4 separate regions of the Homo sapiens genome follow, and all the other regions are linked to region 3. The links are contacts of gene promoters, found by promoter capture Hi-C in human tissues and cell types (Jung and others, 2019). All regions are on one chromosome and are shown on one strand. Each heading gives the region's core, a stretch centred on a gene start or on the middle of the fragment in contact. The rest is flanking DNA. Distances are from core to core; before and after follow the strand shown.

The links. The method cuts DNA at HindIII sites, captures the fragments that hold promoters and counts their contacts. A contact is called where the count stands out against the background at its distance.
Region 1: a contact is called between a fragment that was not itself captured here and the fragment with the promoter of GNA14 in region 3, in 4 of the 25 tissues and cell types used here (H1 embryonic stem cells, bladder, dorsolateral prefrontal cortex and 1 more).
Region 2: a contact is called between a fragment that was not itself captured here and the fragment with the promoter of GNA14 in region 3, in 2 of the 25 tissues and cell types used here (H1 embryonic stem cells and dorsolateral prefrontal cortex).
Region 4: a contact is called between a fragment that was not itself captured here and the fragment with the promoter of GNA14 in region 3, in 3 of the 25 tissues and cell types used here (bladder, hippocampus and lymphoblastoid cells).

Annotation. Positions count from the first base shown.
Region 1 is chr9:77,712,829-77,717,899 of GRCh38, reverse strand. GNAQ (G protein subunit alpha q) reads left to right here. Exons shown (of 7, transcript NM_002072.5): 7 at 1-1,803. Among named protein-coding and RNA genes, the nearest start is that of GNA14, 67 kb to the right of the region's middle. The HindIII fragment of the contact is 4,626 bases long and covers 266-4,891 here.
Region 2 is chr9:77,550,050-77,554,859 of GRCh38, reverse strand. All of the region lies in intron 1 of GNA14 (G protein subunit alpha 14), which reads left to right. Among named protein-coding and RNA genes, the nearest start is that of GNA14, 96 kb to the left of the region's middle. The HindIII fragment of the contact is 6,386 bases long and covers 1-4,810 here.
Region 3 is chr9:77,646,135-77,650,644 of GRCh38, reverse strand. It overlaps GNA14 (G protein subunit alpha 14), which reads left to right and starts at 2,323. Exons shown (of 7, transcript NM_004297.4): 1 at 2,323-2,975. The coding sequence starts at 2,852. The HindIII fragment of the contact is 8,690 bases long and covers 1-4,510 here.
Region 4 is chr9:77,771,434-77,776,047 of GRCh38, reverse strand. All of the region lies in intron 5 of GNAQ (G protein subunit alpha q), which reads left to right. Among named protein-coding and RNA genes, the nearest start is that of GNA14, 130 kb to the right of the region's middle. The HindIII fragment of the contact is 3,819 bases long and covers 379-4,197 here.

The sequences.
Region 1 (5,071 bases), core at 1,329-3,828, 67 kb before region 3:
AATCTCCTAGAAGTTTTTGTTTTTAACATTTCCATATAAAGAGCTCTGTTGAATGTCATGAATAGACTGGAAAAAAAAATTTTAAGAACCTGCATATGTTGTTTACTAGCAGATGACAACTACAAAAGGAATCTGAAGAACACGTAAAACTTGTATTTTTTTTTTTTTGGTAGATTAACTAGCAGGCCTATTTTAAAAAGGTAATTCAGCTAAAGGGCAATTTACTTTTTTGTACTTCAGACTATCTTGATTGTCAAAGTGTACGAACTGTAATTTTAAAATTTATACTGCCACATGATTGTAAATTTTAGTTGTCTTAAGTTAGGAATTGGTGAAAAGCTATTTATGCTGGATTTGGGTCAAAATGACTTATTTGCAAAAAAATAAATAATGGGAAGAAAGGGCTGTATAATGAAATACTGCAAGACTCACATATTGGTTGGAAATTTCCCTCAAATCACCTACCGATTACCCTTGATTTCCCTTTGTTTTCAGTTTCTCAAAACGAATGAAATGAAATATAGCAGAATGTTAACCCATATAAAAATAAAGTGTACCCAAATATTGTAATGTATATTGCTGCTCTTCTTCAAATTAAATAAGGGTTTAAAACCACTTAATTGGTAATCAACATCTCAATTGATACAAATAAGGTGTGCTTGGTATACATTAATATTTTCTTCCAAAGATATATCTTTGGTTAGAAACACAAAAAAATAAAACTAGTAATATTGTATGTTTATCTATCTCTACATATTTCCAGCATATGTAGCGTTAATAGATCTGTCCTGGTAACTGTGTCTTTGGGATTTCATTTTGGTTCCATCAAATTAGGAAAAGAAATGGCTTAGTTGTATATGATTAGCTAGAGATTTTTGGAGCCAGACACCTGCTGTTTAGTAGATAACTTAGTACAGACCCTAAACTTGTCATTTGTTTTTCTCACAGAATAGCCATTTCCTGCTGTCTTCCCAATGATCACTGCCCTTTCAATAACACTCTTGCCTCTAGAATCATATGTTCAAAGTATGAATACACACCTAGCACATAGTAGGTGCTCAAATATTAATTTCCTCCTTGCCTTCCTTATCTACCCTGTGTCCTCCATTTCCCCGTATGATTCCAACCCAATATAGCAAATGACATTTACATGTTATGAAAACATCTATTGGGTAAAATCAGATCTTGGATAAAGAAATTCTGACTTTTATATAAGCTTTTGGTAGACAGAAAAAACAGAAAGGTATTCGTTGGTAGAACATTTTTAAGTTCAGGAAAGAAAGCTGGAATAATACTACGTAACTTTGTCCAGGTTACTTTGACTGAAACACGTTTTTGGTGGATTTCTTTTCCTCAAAGAACTCTCTAAATGCAACTCCTTGCTGGATTCCTCACCCATCATCCTGTTGGAAACCCTTACTAGACCTATGTATTTAGGGAGTTTTGTCAGAAAACATTTTTAACTTGCAGTATTTAAAAGAATATTTACTGTTCCTAAAATGTCATTCAAATGCATGTACTGTCTATTGTTTGGGGATGGGAACTAGTTTTGCAAAAAACACCTAATGTTGTATAATAATGCCCCAATGATCTTGCTGGTTAAAAATACAGTATTTTTGGCCATAATTTTGTACTATAGTATTCTTCATTGTTGAGTTTTGCTTCCATTAAAGTTGCCCGAGCCCCTCTCAGAATGTTTTGTATTAGTAGGAGTACTGAAATACATCTTTCCTTCCTTAACACACCTTGTGCATATTGCATTTTCCAAAATAAACAAGTTTAATGGTTTCAAAAAAAAAAAAACACCAAAAAACCTTTTCCCTTCTGTGTATAATCAGAAATAAGAGTCTCCTGTAGTGGAAATACACATATTGGTAGCATTTATCAAATTTGCTCTTTGAAAAAACTTGCCTTAATTTAGGTTATAATTAACTGGTTAAAAAAAAAAGTAAATACCTATCCAATAAAGAAAGGAGCCAGCAATCTTCAACCTGAGGCAGTCTCCCAATCAGTAAAAAGAATCCACACATCTGCCCTGGTTTACTGGGTAGCACACTGGACTCAGGCCAATGGCTGGCTTAAGAGTTTTGCCCATTTCAACACTGGCAGTGAATAGGTAGACTCCACATGGGAAAAATGACATGTCACAGGTGTCCTCTCTGAGTTTTAGAAACACATCCAGGCTTTTGAGGTCAGCTAAAAATCAGCTGCTCCTGGGAGTTTTATTAAGTGGAGGTGATGGTGGCAAGTGGCTTTCTGGAAAATAGGTACTTTTGTGGGGACTTTAAGCCACAGCAAAAGCAAAACCTGTTCCTGTTACTCCAACTGGCAGCCAGCCCTTGCTTATGGATTTTTGTTTTTCAGAATATGTCCCCTCTAAATACTAAGAGATGAGAGTGTCATTTTTGCTTAAAGGCCTTCAGCTCTCCTTGTGTGATTTAGAGACCATTTCCAGTAGATGGTATTCTCTCTCTCTGTCTTAACTGTTCAAGGAATGGCGTGGCACTGACTGTCATCTAGCACAGGCCTGGAGTGATGGTTCCCACACCCTAGTTCTGCAGAGACACTGGAGTGTTAAGCTATACAGGAGCACTCCCCTCTCTTTGGCCTTCTAACCTGAGTTTGACCCCTTTAGGACCATGATCTATTTGTACCATCATTCCAAAGACCCCCACCCAGAGGAAAAAACACAAACTCACTAAACAGTCATTGGGCCAAATATTTAACTTGACCTTTTGGCTCATAGAGCAAGCCTATGCCATCAGATTGTCTTCTGTCCTGTCTTTCTGGAAATGGTAACAAAACAGTTGGCTTGAAAGCTTCTCTGCTTTACTCCCCATCTTTCCTGCCTTCTCACATTTTTCTCTCAGGTTGTGATGCCCTGAGTCCTGCCTCTTGAGAGACAATTAAGCCATAGCAAAAAGGTGGAACTTGATGCTAAGGAACAACCAGGTACACTGCATAATGTGTGCAGAGCAATTTCAGATGGTAAACTAGCCAGTTTCTTGCTTTTTTGTCTAATTTCAAATGATTATCATACTCATGAGTTTCTCCATATTTGAAGCTCTTATTGAAATTTGATCAGGGGTGGAGAGTGAAAGGCAGTGGTTAGAAGTGGCTTTCTGGCTGATTTGTTTTAAATTACGCATTATCGTTATTTTTTTTTGTTTCATTGTCATGGCTGACTAAAACATGGATCCAGCTATTACAAGGAGCTATATCCAGTCTGTTTTAAGGGAGTCCCGTAGATTCCTGCAAAACAAGACCCTGGTTATAAAATGTAGGTCTCTTTAAAATCTAAGATGCATAGAGAGTACTGAAAAGATTATTTTCCCTTTGAATTCTTATGCCTCAAGACTATTGGAATTTGATCTCTGTTGATTTTTCTCTCTTCCTGTTTTCCTCAAGAATGCAAAGGCCAGAATATTTTTCTGTCTCATAAGCCTGTGGATAAAATAAGGCAACTTACCCTCTTTAATTAAGAGTAATCACACTGAACCATACTAACAGAGAGCTGGAAGGCAGGGCTCCCAGGTTTCAGCCCTTTCGTAGCCCTAGAGATGTTTTTGCAACTCAGGAGACTAGGCCTGTCCCACAGAGATAGACTGCTTAAAGGGCCCTGGGGACTCTCCATCTGTTTCCAGTTTGCTCCGTGTGCTTTTATGTTGGGTCTTAAAAGCATCTTAAAAGGACCAGGAAGAGACAAGGTCTGCAAATGGAGATTCCACACTGTGTCCAGCTGCCAGGACGCTAACGTAGCTGCTGCTAAGACTGTGTCTGCCCTGAGGCAGACCTCACCTAGGAGGGCATATCTGTTAGGAATCCTGGCACTGCCTGCCAACCTACTGTCCAGTCAGGGCACCAGCCAGTCATGCCTGAAGTACAGGTGCCATGTCAGGGGTTATAGCATCAATGGTTATATTCTAGGAATCTGAGCAGTCTTAGCAAAAGGGACCAGCTTGCTTTTGTCACTGAACTTGGAGTTGAGAAGAGATGCTGACACCTGGCTCTCAAAGTGCCCTGCATGCCATCCTCAGGTGCTTTAGGTGATGCCTTTCTGTAAACCTGGAGAGTGTCAGCAGGAAAGACCACCCTGGCTTACTGCACCAGAAACATATGCATTCCCTCCCCTGTGACTCAGACCCAATGACCAAAAAGCAAACTGGCCCCATACCCATGATGGGCTCTGACAAGTGGCGGCTCTGCTGGAAATACAAAATATTTAAACTCAAAAGGAATCAGTTTGGGTAGCAAATTTAACTAATACGTGTGTGTGCGTGTGCGTGTGTGTGTGTGTGTGTTTAATGTCTCAGCATCTCCAACCAACTCAATCATTGCTGAATAAAGAGGAAAACCCCACACAAATGTTTATGTCAATTGGGTAAAATCAATCCTAATATTTTTAAAAACATAGTCTCTACACATACGTGGGTACACATGTAAAATCTCAAAATGGTTTTATCTTGACGCTGTGTACACAGATACACGTGTACAAATATCCGCACATCTATACAGTGAGGCTTGCTTATCCCTATGGTTATAAGCATTTTATCTCATGGAAGGTAATTCTTCATATTGACATGATTGAGACTAAAAGTATCATAAAATCCACAGCTCACGTTTTCTTTTTTAAAAAACTGTTCTCTCACCGCTCTTTTCAAAACTCTGCCTTAATCTAGGAAAGAATACCTAATTATTGCACTTTTTTTTTTTTTAAATTGTTTTAGGAGAGTTGAACTTAGACTGGGGTTTCTCTGTCTCTGGGCAATGAGGGGATGTATTTCCAGCAGACAGGAAGAGTCTCAGACCAGGTACAAAAACTGGATGAAATGTCTGTCTCATTACGAAAGCCACACTTTAGATGCACATTCCTGTAGATGTTATCGTTTCCATTCCTGAGTTAAGTCTTCTCTGTGTAGATTGCTCACTTCCTACTACAGATGATGAATTGCCAGAACACCAGGCACATACCACACAGCTTGTACAGAACTACAGACTCAGAACAGACAGTTTGGGGACTGTGTTCTTCTATAATTATTCTTCAACCTGCTGGAGGTGCCTCGCTGCACGT
Region 2 (4,810 bases), core at 1,336-3,835, 96 kb after region 3:
CAGCCACAAAAACATGCAATTCTAGCACAGGATTTTGTCTTTAATTGTCACAGTAGAAATGAGATCCCCATTTGGCTTCCAGCACAGGGTAATAAACTCCATGTCTGTGAGCAATTTGGAGCAGACAGGAGATGTTTTTCTGAAGATTTAGAAAGGAATTACAGTGCAGCTCAGTTCTTCATTTTTATAAACATAGACCTTTGTCAGAGAATGTTTTGACACAGTTATCTTGGGGATCCAAAATTGTTTGGATGAAGTATTAATAGTATTTTTAAATTTATATAAAGTGGATGACTTTAGTATCAAAATAGCCAACAGAATATGAATCCCTCGCATTGAAAATGAGAGGAAACAGAACAGACAGCATCCCTGTTCTTGCTAACAGTCAAACTGATACTAAAACTTTAAAAAAACTTTTAACAAAAATTCTTAGGTTTGAACTTTGACAACTAATAGGCATGACATGCTCATAACCAAGAGGGGATAGAATTGTGTTTACTTTCTTGTGCATAAATAATGAAACACTGTTCGCCTACCACCCAGTGATTACCACCATTAAGTTTTGGTGACTATAATTCCAACTTACAGATGTGTGTATATGTGTGTGCAAGCTTAAAAATAATCCAAATCATCTTCACCTGAAAGTAACAGAGACACTTTTAAAGGCTTGCTGTGGGCTGAGCACTGGCTGAGTGCTTGCAGTGTTACCATTCCCGTTTCCCAGATGAGGCCAATTGAGAGCCTGTTCATGGTGAGGCAGCAGGTAAGTGGCAGACTTGGAATTTGAGCACAGGTACCCCTCTTAACCTTTACTGTACTCCCTCCTGGCCTAGTAGGTTTTATTCATTACTTTCTCATTTACTGTACTGTAGACGGCATTTCATGTCAGTAAATATTCATCTGCATTGATTTTCTCAGCCATATATTTCCATTGTGGAGAGTCAACATAACTAATTGGTCTCCTATCACTACGCATTTATTTTTTTTCTCATTTTTGTTATTGTGGATCACACTGTGATTACTTTCCCATTACATAGGTATTTGGCCACTTGTCCAATGATTTCTTTAGATTATATATCCTAGAATTGGAATTTTTGGGTGACATAACATCCCACTTTGAATGATGGTGATGCAAGCTGTCATATAATTCTTCATCTTGCTGTGCACACAAATAAGTGGGAATGGGTGTCTGTTTTCTCATATGCCCATTAACACTGGATTTTTTTTGTCAATTTGCCCCTCTTGCAAACAAAATATGGTATGGCATGATTTTCATTTGCACTCCATGATAATGAGGCCAAATAGTTTTCATATGCCTACTTGTATTCTCTTCTTGTGAATTGCCTTTATGTACTTTCCCTGCTTTTTTTTTCTATTGGTGCTGTTTTAAAAAAAACTGATCATTGAAGTTTTTTGCATATAAATCATTGACTCACCTGGGATTGATTTTGATGTGCCATATAGGTCTGATCTTGTTTCCATGTGGTTAAGATCTAGTCCCAGCACTACTCTGAGATGCCATTTATGAAGATGGTAGGTGTAGTGTAGTGCCTGCCACACATGGTTTCTCCATAAACATTCCTTCCCTTACTCTCTCCCTGTCTCTTGCATAGTCTTAGGGAGAGGTACTAAGGAAGGAGCCCGGGTATATCCAAGAACTGGGCTGGGGGAGTAGAAAAGAACAAGGCTAATTATTGAGATTTCACCCTTCCATGAATGATCAATATTTATGAAGCTCCTCTGAGAGACATATGAGAATAATTAGCTTCCATAAGGCTAGTTTGGGACTTTGATGTGCCTTTTTTCCTGGGATGTGTTTTTCCAGCAGGTCATGTCACCATTAGGTAAATGGAGTGATCCTCATTCATATTGTCATGATGATGCAGTAGATGCAGTTTTCAGAAAACCCTCATTGAGTTATGTTCACTTTTCTCCTGGCAGCCTGCAGTACAGTGTTCTGTTGGTTGGCACAGTTTCTGCTGCTTAACGCTGGATGGAAAATAAGTTAGAATCTGATAGTTATGGGCATTTCAATTAAGATGCTTAATAGCACTAATTGTATTTGGCTATAAGAACCCAAAAATGCTTGGGCATTAAAAAGAAACTAAGGTGAAATAATAATGATATTAAAATTTATCCTTGTTTCTCTGATGTTGTGAAGGCTACAACGGTAGGTCCTTCTGGAAGAGGTTGCCCTTGCTCCCTTGCTGAGTGAATTGGGTCTTTGGTAACATTTGTTTCCTTTATTATGTCAGAGTAATCATTCTTGGTGAGGTGATCTTGAAATTCTTAAAAGAGCAGAATGCAATTGTTATAAATAATATATCATAACAAAAATGAGAATCAAATTCACCAGTTGGTGTAACTTGGGACATATCACAGAATGTAGGACCAAGAAAAGTTTCAGTTTTCAATTCTGTTAGGAAAGCTCATCAGCAAATCCATTCTTTCCAGAAACCAAAGCTATAAAAACCCAAGAAATGCTCGGAGCATGTTATCTCTCATTATTTTCATTTCCAGATTATTTTCTCAGATTTGTTCATCTCTCAGCCTCTCAAAGCCTCCACTGTCCTTCACTTTTCACCACCAACTCCCCACCAAAAGAAAAACCAAACAAATAATCCCCCAGAATCTGGATATTATAGATTCAATTTTATTTTAGAACTTTTGGGAATAATTGATTGTTTGTGTTGAATTTCTTTCTTTCTTTTTCTTTTTTTTTTTTTTTTTTTTGAGATGGAGTTTCTCTCCTGCTGCAAAGGCTTGATCTTGGCTCACTGCAACCTCTGCCTCCCGGGTTCAAGTGATTCTCCTGCCTCAGCCTCCCAAATAGCTGGGATTACCAGTGCCCACCACCACACCTGGCTAATTTTGGTATTTTTAATAGAGACAGGATTTCACCACGTTGGCCAGGCTGGTCTCGAACTCCTGACCTCAGGTGATCCGCCTGACTCGGCCTCCCAAAGTACTGGGATTACAGGCATGAGCTACCGCGCCTGGCCAAATTTCTTTATATTAAGGCTGTATTTGCAAATACTGGCCTTCTAAAATCACTGAAGATGATTTCTACCAAATGAGCCATGAAGAATGAAAAGGATTTTTTTTTAAAAAAAGCAAAGAACATGGCCCTAACTCTTTTTCTTATTGTTTCTTGTTGCCCAAAGATGCTGCTCAGATCTAGTAGGAGAATAATCCTTCCTATTTTTCACTATATTTCTTCCTAGGGGCTGGAATTGACCAGACTTTAGGAGCAGGGAAGGGTCCCATGAAAGAGGGCTTCAGCTTCAGTCTGGAGGCAGCTTCAGAACTTGATGACCTAGTGATTTGGGGTCACTTGAAGGGGGGGTGGGTGAGTGTCTGCGCATGTATATGATGAGGTCCTGCTTTTTCTAGTCCCTTGACTAGTTTTGTGCCTGCTGCAAGATGTACTTCATGGTGGCCAAGGGGCAGGCTGGCGTGGATGGGGATGAGTTTATGCCAGTGGTTGACCACATAAAGGAAGTCTAAAGACCCTGCTTATCTGCAGGACAGAGTTTGAGTTGTCAGCATTAGTAGATGAGTAGAAATTGAAGATTCAAAATTTGAAAAAGGATGAGGAGGGAGAGGAGGAAAAGAACAGCTAAAGAATGTATAATATATCAAACTGTGTCAAAGCATGCTAGCCAAAGATGCTTGATTTGCATTGCTTGTTGATTTGCAGGCACATACATTCTGTATAAAGTATAATGAAAATTTTCAGCTAATCTGCCAAAAAGGTTGAAAATTTTCCCTTTCAACCTATGATGGAAAACAATTCAGCAATGTATGTTTTGAGGGCAGGGGTAGGGGAAGACCAAGCAGACTGCCTGAAGATATTCCTCATCAGGAAAATCAGAGTTGTATTTTCAATTCCATACTGAATTTAAAACAGGAACTGGGCCCACAATAGCATAACAGTAAGGAAAAATCTGATGTCTGATTTTGAGACCTAGCGTAGCTAAATTTCCAGTGTGTGAGAGTGAATACGAAGGTGACCATCTTAATTTGCACACTTTACCCTGTGAATAATTTTGTTGCCCCTGTGGACAACCTGACCTTAACAAAGCCTTGTCAAGCCCATCTCATTTCCACCTCCCATTTGATTCTCTTTGAACTTCCATGTGTAAACAATGGTTGGATTATAGAATAGATAAAGTGAGATTTAACAGCTGCTTTGAAGATAGTTTAAATGTACTTTTAATTAGTATTGTTGAATTGATTTCATGCTGTAGCTCCTAACTTGACTGTATTTTATGATAATGAGTGTGTTTTGAACCTAGATGTGCACTGCGATGGTATTTCAGGGTGGATATTGATATGTATGTGACCACATGACATTACTCCCAATTGTCCTGGGTATTATATCTGCTCCAGAAACTGGCTAACTCAGAGGAATCTTAGCACCTTTAGCTAATAATATGTACCAATTGTACATGCTTGCAAAGTTTCTTTCACTTCTTAAAAACTCTGGGTGAAGGTGAAGGCTTTCTCTGTATTTAGTCTACCATTCTTTTAGCAAACAAATCGAAGTGAGATCTTTCTTTACTGAGTAGATCTATACCAAAATATACCGAGGCTGAAAGAGCATATCCTGGATAAAAGTTGGAAATGAGAAAATATTGCCATTGATAGTTACTGCTTCAACCCCTGAGTGCATGTTGAGCCAGGGAGGCACCGTACATTTGCAGGGCACAGACAGGGTTACCAATGGAAACCCCTGGCTGGTGTTCCCTTCTCTCTACCCCCTCCCACCCACAGTGCAAAAGACTTTATGTGCACCCTGGCTAGAACA
Region 3 (4,510 bases), core at 1,074-3,573:
GTTGCCCAGGCTGGAGTGCAATGGTGTGATCTTGGCTCACCACAACCTCTGCCTTCCGGATTCAAGCAATTCTCCTGCCTCAGCCTCCCGAGTAGCTGGGATTACAGGCATGTGCCACCACACCCAACTAATTTTGTATTTTTAGTAGAGATGGGGTTTCTCCATGTTGGTCAGGCTGGCTGGTCTCGAACTCCCAACCTCAGGTGATCTGCCCGCCTCGGCCTCCCAAAGTGCTGGGATTACAGACGTGAGCCACTGCACCCAGCCCAAATTTTCTAATGAACAATGAAAATCAACCAAACAGCCATGACTCACAGCAAGCTACCTTTTTGATGTGTGTCCCTTCAGTCTCTTAAAAATGTGTATGCGTATTCTTATACTAAAATCTTATCATACTCTTTATATTTTTGGATCTTGCCTTTTTCATTCAATATATTTTGAGGATTTTCTCCAAATTTATTCACATGTTTACTACTCGCATATCCACATATTTAATGGCTCCAAAACATCTCATTGTATGGATAAACCATGATTTAAGTGATCTCTTCCCTGTTGTTAGGTATTTAGGTTGTGAGTTTTTGTTGTTGTATTGGCAATAAAACCTTTGCATCAGTCATGAGGCTTCTTTCTAGTTATTTCTTAAGGGAGAAATTACTGGTTTGGCCGAAGGGGACGGACATGTTTAAGGCTTCAGATATATACTGCCAAGCTGACTAGCCCAGGAAAGTTGTACAGATTTGCCCTAATCAATATGTTTCATAACTGTTTTTGAAATCTTGCCAACTTTAAACCTAATAGGTCAGTATCAGTAATTCCCGTTAACGTAAGAGTTCAAATTTGCCCTAGTTTTAATCATTTAAAAATTTTTTATAATTTTTAAATGATAACAATTATGATGCAACCATGACTTTGAGAAGCCAAGAGATCTTATTCTCAAATTGTAAATGAATCCGTAAGAGCTAAGAGAGAAGAAACAGGCTATTAAATGGCCAAAGATCAAATCTGAAATGTCCAGGAGTTTTCCTGTAGGGGTCACTGTTACTGTCAATTTATGCCTGCAAGAAAACTAAAATAGTCACACATTAAAGCATGTATGCACATTTTTAATGTCTGATTCCTCTACATTTCTTAAACTGTAAAATAATAAGAACATGCAGCCAGATAGCATCGCGATACCAACTTCTTTATATAATGACACGTACCATTCCACTCAATGTGCTCCTCAGTTTGAATTTATAAAATATATGCTACTCAAATGAAAGGCACTTATGCCTGCTCTTAGTAGAGGAAGCGCTAGCTAATTGCCTAACGCCCCATTAGCATATGGCCTATACTGACTTGAGAAGGAAAGAACGTTCATTGCTGTGGCCAATAGGATCCCCTCTCCCCACCTTCCCTTTTCTGCATCAAAATCTACACAGACAAAAGTCAGATGTTGTAATATGCATTTTATCGTGTCACTTAAGTACTAAGAGGTGCTTTTAAAGTTTTTATTAATGCTGCTCAAACTTGACCCCGACGGTCCAGGATACAGGCCAAGGTGTCAGTGCGGACACAATCGCAAGGCGGCTGTTAGGCTTCAGGGCTGGGCAGGAAACTTGCCAGGTGCTACTAGGAACGTATCAGCCCTTTCTACAAAGCAGGTGTCTTTCCCATCATAAAATGCAAAGCAATCAGCCGTTCCCTTTCTCCCCAGCCCCCTCGTCCGGAGACCGAGAGGATATTTACCCTGGGCTCTTGCAGTTCTCTTATAACTGAACCCAGCGGCGGCTCCTTCTCCGAGCTCAGAGCCAGCAGGCTCAGGCCCAGCCACACTTTACAGGCAAATTGCCGAGCTGACCAAGGGCTTTGGCCAAGCCCGAGCTGGGCCGGGGCGTCCGGGAAGCGGAAGGAGCCAGTCTAGGAAATCCGGGTGTGCGTGGTGGTGAAGCTGGTGGGCAAGCTTCCACTTCAGGTCCGGGGCTTTGTGTCCCGCAACAGACGCTTGGCGCCGCTCCTCTTCCAGCCTGCTGCCGCCTTCTCCGAGCGAGTGAGTTGGCGAAACTCACTCACCTGTCGGAACCCGGTGCCTGGCGGCCAGACGCGCAGATTACAGCAAACCTTGGCCGGGACGCCCCAGCCAGGGAGGCAAGTGTGGGAGCTGCTCCTAGAGGTGCCAGCTCCCACCCCCAGCTCCGCGCCCCCTGCTCGTCCCCTTTCACTTCCAGGCGCCTTCGGCTTGGGGTGCCCAGAAGGGCAAGTCCAGCAGACGCCAGGGCTGCAGGTTCAAGATGCTCCGCCTCCTCCTGCCACTTAGAGCCACAAACGCTAGCGGGAACCTTTCCACTCAGTCTTAGTCTGCGGTCACTGCTGAGGTTTTCAGAACTTTCCAGGCAAAGGCCAGCCAGGTCCTTTGCCTCCAACCCACTCCGCGCCTACCTCCCGCCTGGGGACACCCCTAGGCCCAGGAGATCCTACTCTCCCCCGAGCACCGACGTTCCAACTCGTCTGCGCCCCCGACTGCTGTCCGGCTCCTGTGCCAAGGGGCGCGCGCATCTTCCCGGGGCCAGCAACGCTCCCAACTTCTCGACTCGCCCTCCTCCTCCCCAGAGCGAGAGTGGGGCGGGCTGAGCCCGGATCCGGGGTGCACTCGAGCGTTCCCAGCGCTCGGCATTCACCCCGCCTCAGAGCCGACTTTCGAAGGGGGATTGAGCCTCGGAGGTCCAGGCGTCTTACTCCAAAGCTCAAGTCGGCCCCCGTCTTTTCTTTCCACACCCCTGTGCCCGTCGCATGCTGGCCGGGTGAGCGGCCGGGCCGAGGATTCGGGTGCCCGGGGCCGCGTCGCCCCGTCGGGTACTGAGCTGAGCGCACCATGGCCGGCTGCTGCTGCCTGTCCGCGGAGGAGAAGGAGTCGCAGCGCATCAGCGCGGAGATCGAGCGACAGCTTCGTCGGGACAAGAAGGACGCGCGCCGTGAGCTTAAGCTGCTGCTGCTGGGTGAGTGGCTGCGTCTCCGACTCCAGTGAGCCGGGCGTTTTTCTTCCGAGCCCTCCCGGCCTCTCCACTGGCACCCGCGCGGCCCTGGAGCCCAGCGGGGTGCAGGGCGGCTTCGTCCTTCTCCCCCTCGGAGCTCACGGATGCCAGCAACTTGGGGCCTTAGGTGCCTGTTCTTTCCATCTCTGGCTGGGCGACTTGCAAAAGCAACACCTTCCCCTGCCCCAAAACAGGATAGGGACCTGTAACACTTAACCTCTTGACCGCTGTACCTTATGTGTTCCGGTGTGCCCCTCTCCTCAAAACCCCGTCCACTCCTCCGCCCGCAGCACACCCAGCTTGGGGTCTGTGGTGACCCACATCTTGGGTTCAGCGCTAGCTCTGACCCGTACGCTTTCAGTTCTAGATGAAGCATCTTGAGAATTTACCATGTGCCAGATCGTGCTAAGTTCTTAAGGGCATCACCACCTGGTGATGCGGGCAGGTGATATCGCTATTCTAGAGAATTAAAACATGGAGGCCTGGAGAACTGACCAACTTGCCCTGATTGAGAAAAGGCAAAGCCGATGCTAGGTCAGCTGTGGGGGTGAAGCCCATGCCGTTGCTGCTCCTCTGACCGTGAGCTCCTATGCCTGCCTCCCATGGGGGTCCCTCAGGCCTTTGTGTTTGCAGCGGACCCAAACCTCCCTTGCCCAGCTTGACTCAGTGTGTCCACGTCCTAGGATTCAGCTTGGCTGCCCTGGTGCCTCTGGCAGGTCTTCATCCAGCTCTTTTGGTGTCTCTGCAAAGGTCTGGGTAGGACATCCACTTTCAAACACAGAAAGAACACAGTTTAAGGTTTGCCCAAGTTATGCCATGAGGCAAGGATCCCATCTCAGACTTTCTAGAACGCTGTCAACACATTTGCTGTTTGAGGAATATTTTACCTTTTCTACCTTTCAGACCATGATATCAGCTGTCAATTTTTTTCTAGATAGCCACAAAGATTTCAACTTTTTTTCTTTCACCCCTTTTGAACAGGAATCTTCTCTTATACCATCTATTTATTCATCTTTATTCCTTGTATAGGAATCACCCTCCCAGAAAGCTTCAAGGAAAGAAAAAGTTGATCTAGTTAGTGTAATATAGAGAAGGCTCTCAGCCAGTATGGCCTTCAGACCTGGGCGGAAGAACCCCCTTATCCTTATCCCCTGGGTTTAAAGGGCCCAGTCTGGCCTTCTGGGGGTTGGGGGGGGGTGTGCCCCTCCCCACAGAGCTGGAAGTCTGTAGGTCCAAAGGGGCTTGCTACCCAGAGACCATGCTGCCCCCTCCCTCCCAAGACCTGGATGGAATGAATACCCAGCCCAAAGGGACCCATACCAGCTTCTAAGGCCTGAGCCCTAGAAAAGAAGGCAGACCTGATCCCTGGAGAGCTCACAAAGGGGCAGCTGTTTGCTGGGGCGTAAAAGTGCTTGGAAATGTGGGCTGGGTAGGAGTGGAGGGAGTCCCCGTGGGTGCCCAAGAGGCCCCCCTAGGAGAGAGGGAGCTTGGGTGGGGAA
Region 4 (4,614 bases), core at 1,039-3,538, 130 kb before region 3:
ATTGACAATTTTTGCCACTTTTGTGGAAAGATAGATTTTTAGAGGTCCTTATTCCACCATTCCATAAGTTTGTCTCTAAATTGAATTTTTTTCTTTTTCTTTTCTTTTATTTTTTATTTGTTTGATACAGAGTCGTGCTCTGTCACCCAGGTTGGAGTGCAGTGGCACATTCTCGGCTCACTGCAGGTTCCATCTGCTGGGTTCAAGTGATTCTTGTGCCTCAGCGCCCCAAGTATCTAAACTGAATTTTAAAAGTAAATCTCAGCATGCCATAATTACGGAAACACAATTGATGAGTGAAAGTGCCTTTTTACTTGCTAGAATGGCAAAGATAAAAAGAGAGATGAGGAGGCTGGGCGTGGTGGCTCATGCCTGTAATCCCAGCACTTTGGGAGGCCGAGGCAGGCTGATCACGTCAAGAGATCGAGACCATGGTGAAACCCCGTCTCTACTAAAAATACAAAAAAAAATTTAGCTGGGCGTGGTGGCGGGCGCCTATAGTCCCAGCTACTCGGGAGGCTGAGGCAGGAGAATGGCGTGAACCCGGGAGGCAGAGCTTGCAGTGAGCTGATATCACGCCACTGTACTCCAGCCTGGGTGATAGAGCGAGACTCTGTCTCAAAAAAAAAAAAAAAAAAGAGAGATGAGGAGAAGTGAACATTCTTAGATACTGTTAATAGGAGGATAAATTGGTACAATCTGCCAGTAGTATGACAATATATAAAATCTTTTGAGGTGTTTATACCCTTTGATCCAGTAATGCCACTGGTAGAAATGTTATTGCTAATTGTAGTTAGTAGGTTACATGTCCCAAAGACAACATTGCTCAAAGTTGTTAACAATGAAAATAATTAAATTATCCAATTGTAGGAAATCGATTAACAAATTCAGAGTACACCTAAAAAATAAAATACTATGCAGATGCTAAAAATGGTAATATAGATGTATAATTAATATTGGACAGAAAGTCGCTCATGATATATTGATGTAAATAATTTCAAAACAGCACGTACAGCATGCATCTGATTTTTAAAGACATATAATACAGATATTTATTATAGGTGCATACATATATGCCTGGAAGATTAATTCAGACTGTTAGCAGGGATTATTTCTGAATAGTTGGGGTAAAGGTCATTTTGTTTTTATGTTTTATTTATTTTACTTACCTGCATTTTTAAATTTTTACATGAACAATCCATTTTACATGGATTAAAGAAATAATGATTATCTTAAAAGATAAGAAATCTTAAAGATTAAAATCTAATAAAATAAAAGTAAGCTGAGCTGGGCATGGTGGCTCAAACCTGTAATGCCAGCACTTTTGGAGGCCAAGGCAGAAAGATGACTTCAGGCTAGGAGTTGGAGTCCAACCTGGACAACAGAGTGAGACCCTGTCTCTACAAAAAATATAAAGAAATTTGCTGGGCATGTGGTACACACCTGTAGTCTTAGCTACTAGGGAGGCCAAAGCCAGAGGGTCACTTGAGCCCAGGAGTTTGAGGCTGCAGTGAGCTATGATTGTGCCACTACACTCCAGCCTGGGTGACAGAGCAAGAACCTGTCTCTCTATTTTTTCTTTTCTTTTATTTTTTTAAAAGGCATTTTAGGCAGCTTTCTCTTTTTCTGATTGGTTTCAGAAAGATAAGATGCAGTTACAAGCAAATGGAGAAATTAAGTACAAATGTCTGGTCCGAGAAGCTTAGCAAACGTAGCAGTATTAGTTCTAACATCCATTTTCTGTCAATTTATTGAAAATATCTTCAAAACTGATACATCTTTTAGAAGTAATACAAATTAAAGAGTTCATTGAAATAAAGGAGATAGTTTTATGACACCAAGATTTATCTCCACACTTGTTCCTTCATCTTAGATGGAACAAATGCAGAGAGTGTAAAGCTTAAAATAACTATATGCTCTACAATGTAGATAATCAAATGAAAATGCTGTGGTCTCAAAGCCAGAGGAATGTGGACCACTTTGGTGGCCAAATTTAACCAGCTGAGGTCTTTCTTGAGTACCATCTGAGTCTTCCTTTTTAAAAAAAAAAAAGAAGAAGAAGAATTTGTCTTTTAGCAGGGAACCTACATTTTATAAAACTTTAAATCATTTGCTGTGGCTTTGTTATTCTATAATATCACTTTGGTTGGGACACCAAGCTCAATAATTAATAAAGGGTCTGGATTTCGTGAAATGTTCTTCAGAGAGCCTAGATTAAGATCCAGGGGCAGTATAATATATGTGCCATTCTTCAGGTCTTATTCTGCCTCAGTTAAATCTCCTACAGTAACATCTCTAACATGTTTTCACACGGGAACCTATGAAGAAAAGCAGCATATTTTTGAATTGCCAATGAATATAATGTGAATCGTCACTTTAAAATGGGAACAAGAAAAAAGTGTAGTGTCTTTTGTGGAACATTAGTCAACTGTGAGGTACAAATCCAAGGCAGTCCCTGAAGAGACAACAGGGAAATAGAATCAGACTATCTTGGATTAAATCACAGCTTCACTCATTTCAGGCTGGTTAATCTTGCACAAGTTAATATCACTGTGCCTCCCTCATAATGTGAAGAATGAGGATATCATTACTCTTAAAGCGCTGTGAGGATTATTAAAATAGATAACATACAAACTTCCTGGAACACACAGATGTTCAGTAAATTATAGTTCATACTATCAATTTTAAGGTACTGTTATTACTGTTGGTGCTAAGTTAGTGTTATAACTTTCATTTGGAAACATTATCATCTATGGCTAATTCTGTCTTAAGAGAACTCTTTGATTTGACATTTATGCCTCACAGCCAGAGTCATAAGCTTAATCATTATTTGTTAAATAAGATTAAAATATGGGGAAAAGTATTATTTGTGTAAGTGCTGAAAAATAAAGAAGCTTTGGTTTAAGAAAATTTCTTTTACAATAAGAGAATGAAAAGGTTTAACATGCCCAAAAAAAGGGACTGAAAACAATATTTTTAAGATACAGCTACTAATATTTATAACAAGCTTGTCCAACCCATAGCCTGTGGGCCTCACGTGGCCCAGGACGGCTTTGAATGCAGCCCAACACAAATTTGTAAACTTTCTTAAAACATGAGATTTTTTTTGGCGTGTTTCTGTGGTTTTTTTGTTTTTGTTTAGCTCATCAGCTATCTTTAGCATTAGCGTATTTTACATGTGGCCCAAGACAGTTCCTTCTCTTCCATTGTGGCCCAGGGAAGTCAAGAGATTGGACACCCTTGATCTATAACATATATTTGTTATCTGTTTACATGTTCTATTACAGTGTTTGTATTAGTCATGGCTTTGTTGTTGAAAAAAGACAAAAATTCTCACAGACTAGCTGACGTAACCAGGAAGAACCAGGGTGAAGATGCTTTATTAGTACCTTGAACCAGGAGTTTGGTTGGGAATCTCTTTCTCTCTTCTGATTTTTGTTTTGTTTCTCCTCAAACAGTCCTGAATTGTACCTGCTCAGCCTTGCAACCCAAGAGAAAAGGGAGTTTCTATTCCACTCCAAAATGGAAAATCCCACCGAAAGGGGATGTAGTACTAGGTTTGTCTCAGTGTAAATTAATATTGACCCCAGTGGTCAGAGGCAGAATGTATTCCAGGAAGATTGGGGGCAGGGAGCAGAGCACACTTGGTGGAGAAAAACAATGGCCAGGTACCAATCTTTTCCAACCTGGGAGTTTCCGCACAGCAGTGAATTGGGACCATTATTGGGCAGTGAATTCCATATGATGGGGTCATGAGCAGCATCTTTAAAAAAGTGAAATAAATACATTTAAATGAAATTGAATAGAAAATGTTAAAGGATATCACAGTCAGGTGAATTATTGTTTCATGAAACTTTCGTTTCCATTATATTTACATGTGTGTGGGTTGGGGGACTAGGTACAATATAAAACATAGTTGTTAATATGGGTCATAATTTTTAAAGTTTACAGGTCTACACCGTACAGTGCTCTTCAATTGTAAACTACTGTTGTCAATGGGAAGGTAATCTGCTTGCTACTAGGATCTTATTCTTCACTCCAGTCCAGGCATTGGGCGGAAGGGTGAATGCAGAGTGGCACACAGCAGCAGATGGGAATTAGCTGGCTCCTCAGCCTTCCAGGGTGGGTTTTTTTTTGTTGTTTTTGATTGGAGAGTCCAGGTGGGTGGTTGCTGTTTTTCCCCCTTTCTGTGACACAATTTAAGGTAAAGTAATTTTCAGAAACAACCATAGCCATAAATTCAGCTCAATTTGTATGTTTCAGTATGCAACATTTCTTCCACTAACAGGGCCAGCTTCACAGACATGCAACCTCATGCAGTTCCACAGGGCCCTGCACTTGGTTTAATACTCTTCTGTCTGTGGCCATCTTAAACAAGGACCCCACATTTTTATTTTGCACTGGGACCTGCAGATTCTGTAGCCAGTCCTGTCCACTAAACACTAAAATGAGAGATTGGTAGTCCAGAATCATTTTTTTCCCATACCCAGAGAGCTGCAGACATCCTTGTCTTCGCCTGTGCTCACAGAGCACGTGATACTTAACAGGAGGAATATATCTCTCATTTTCTGTTAAATTTAGTTTCACCTGATGCCTCTTAATTTTAATTCTCTT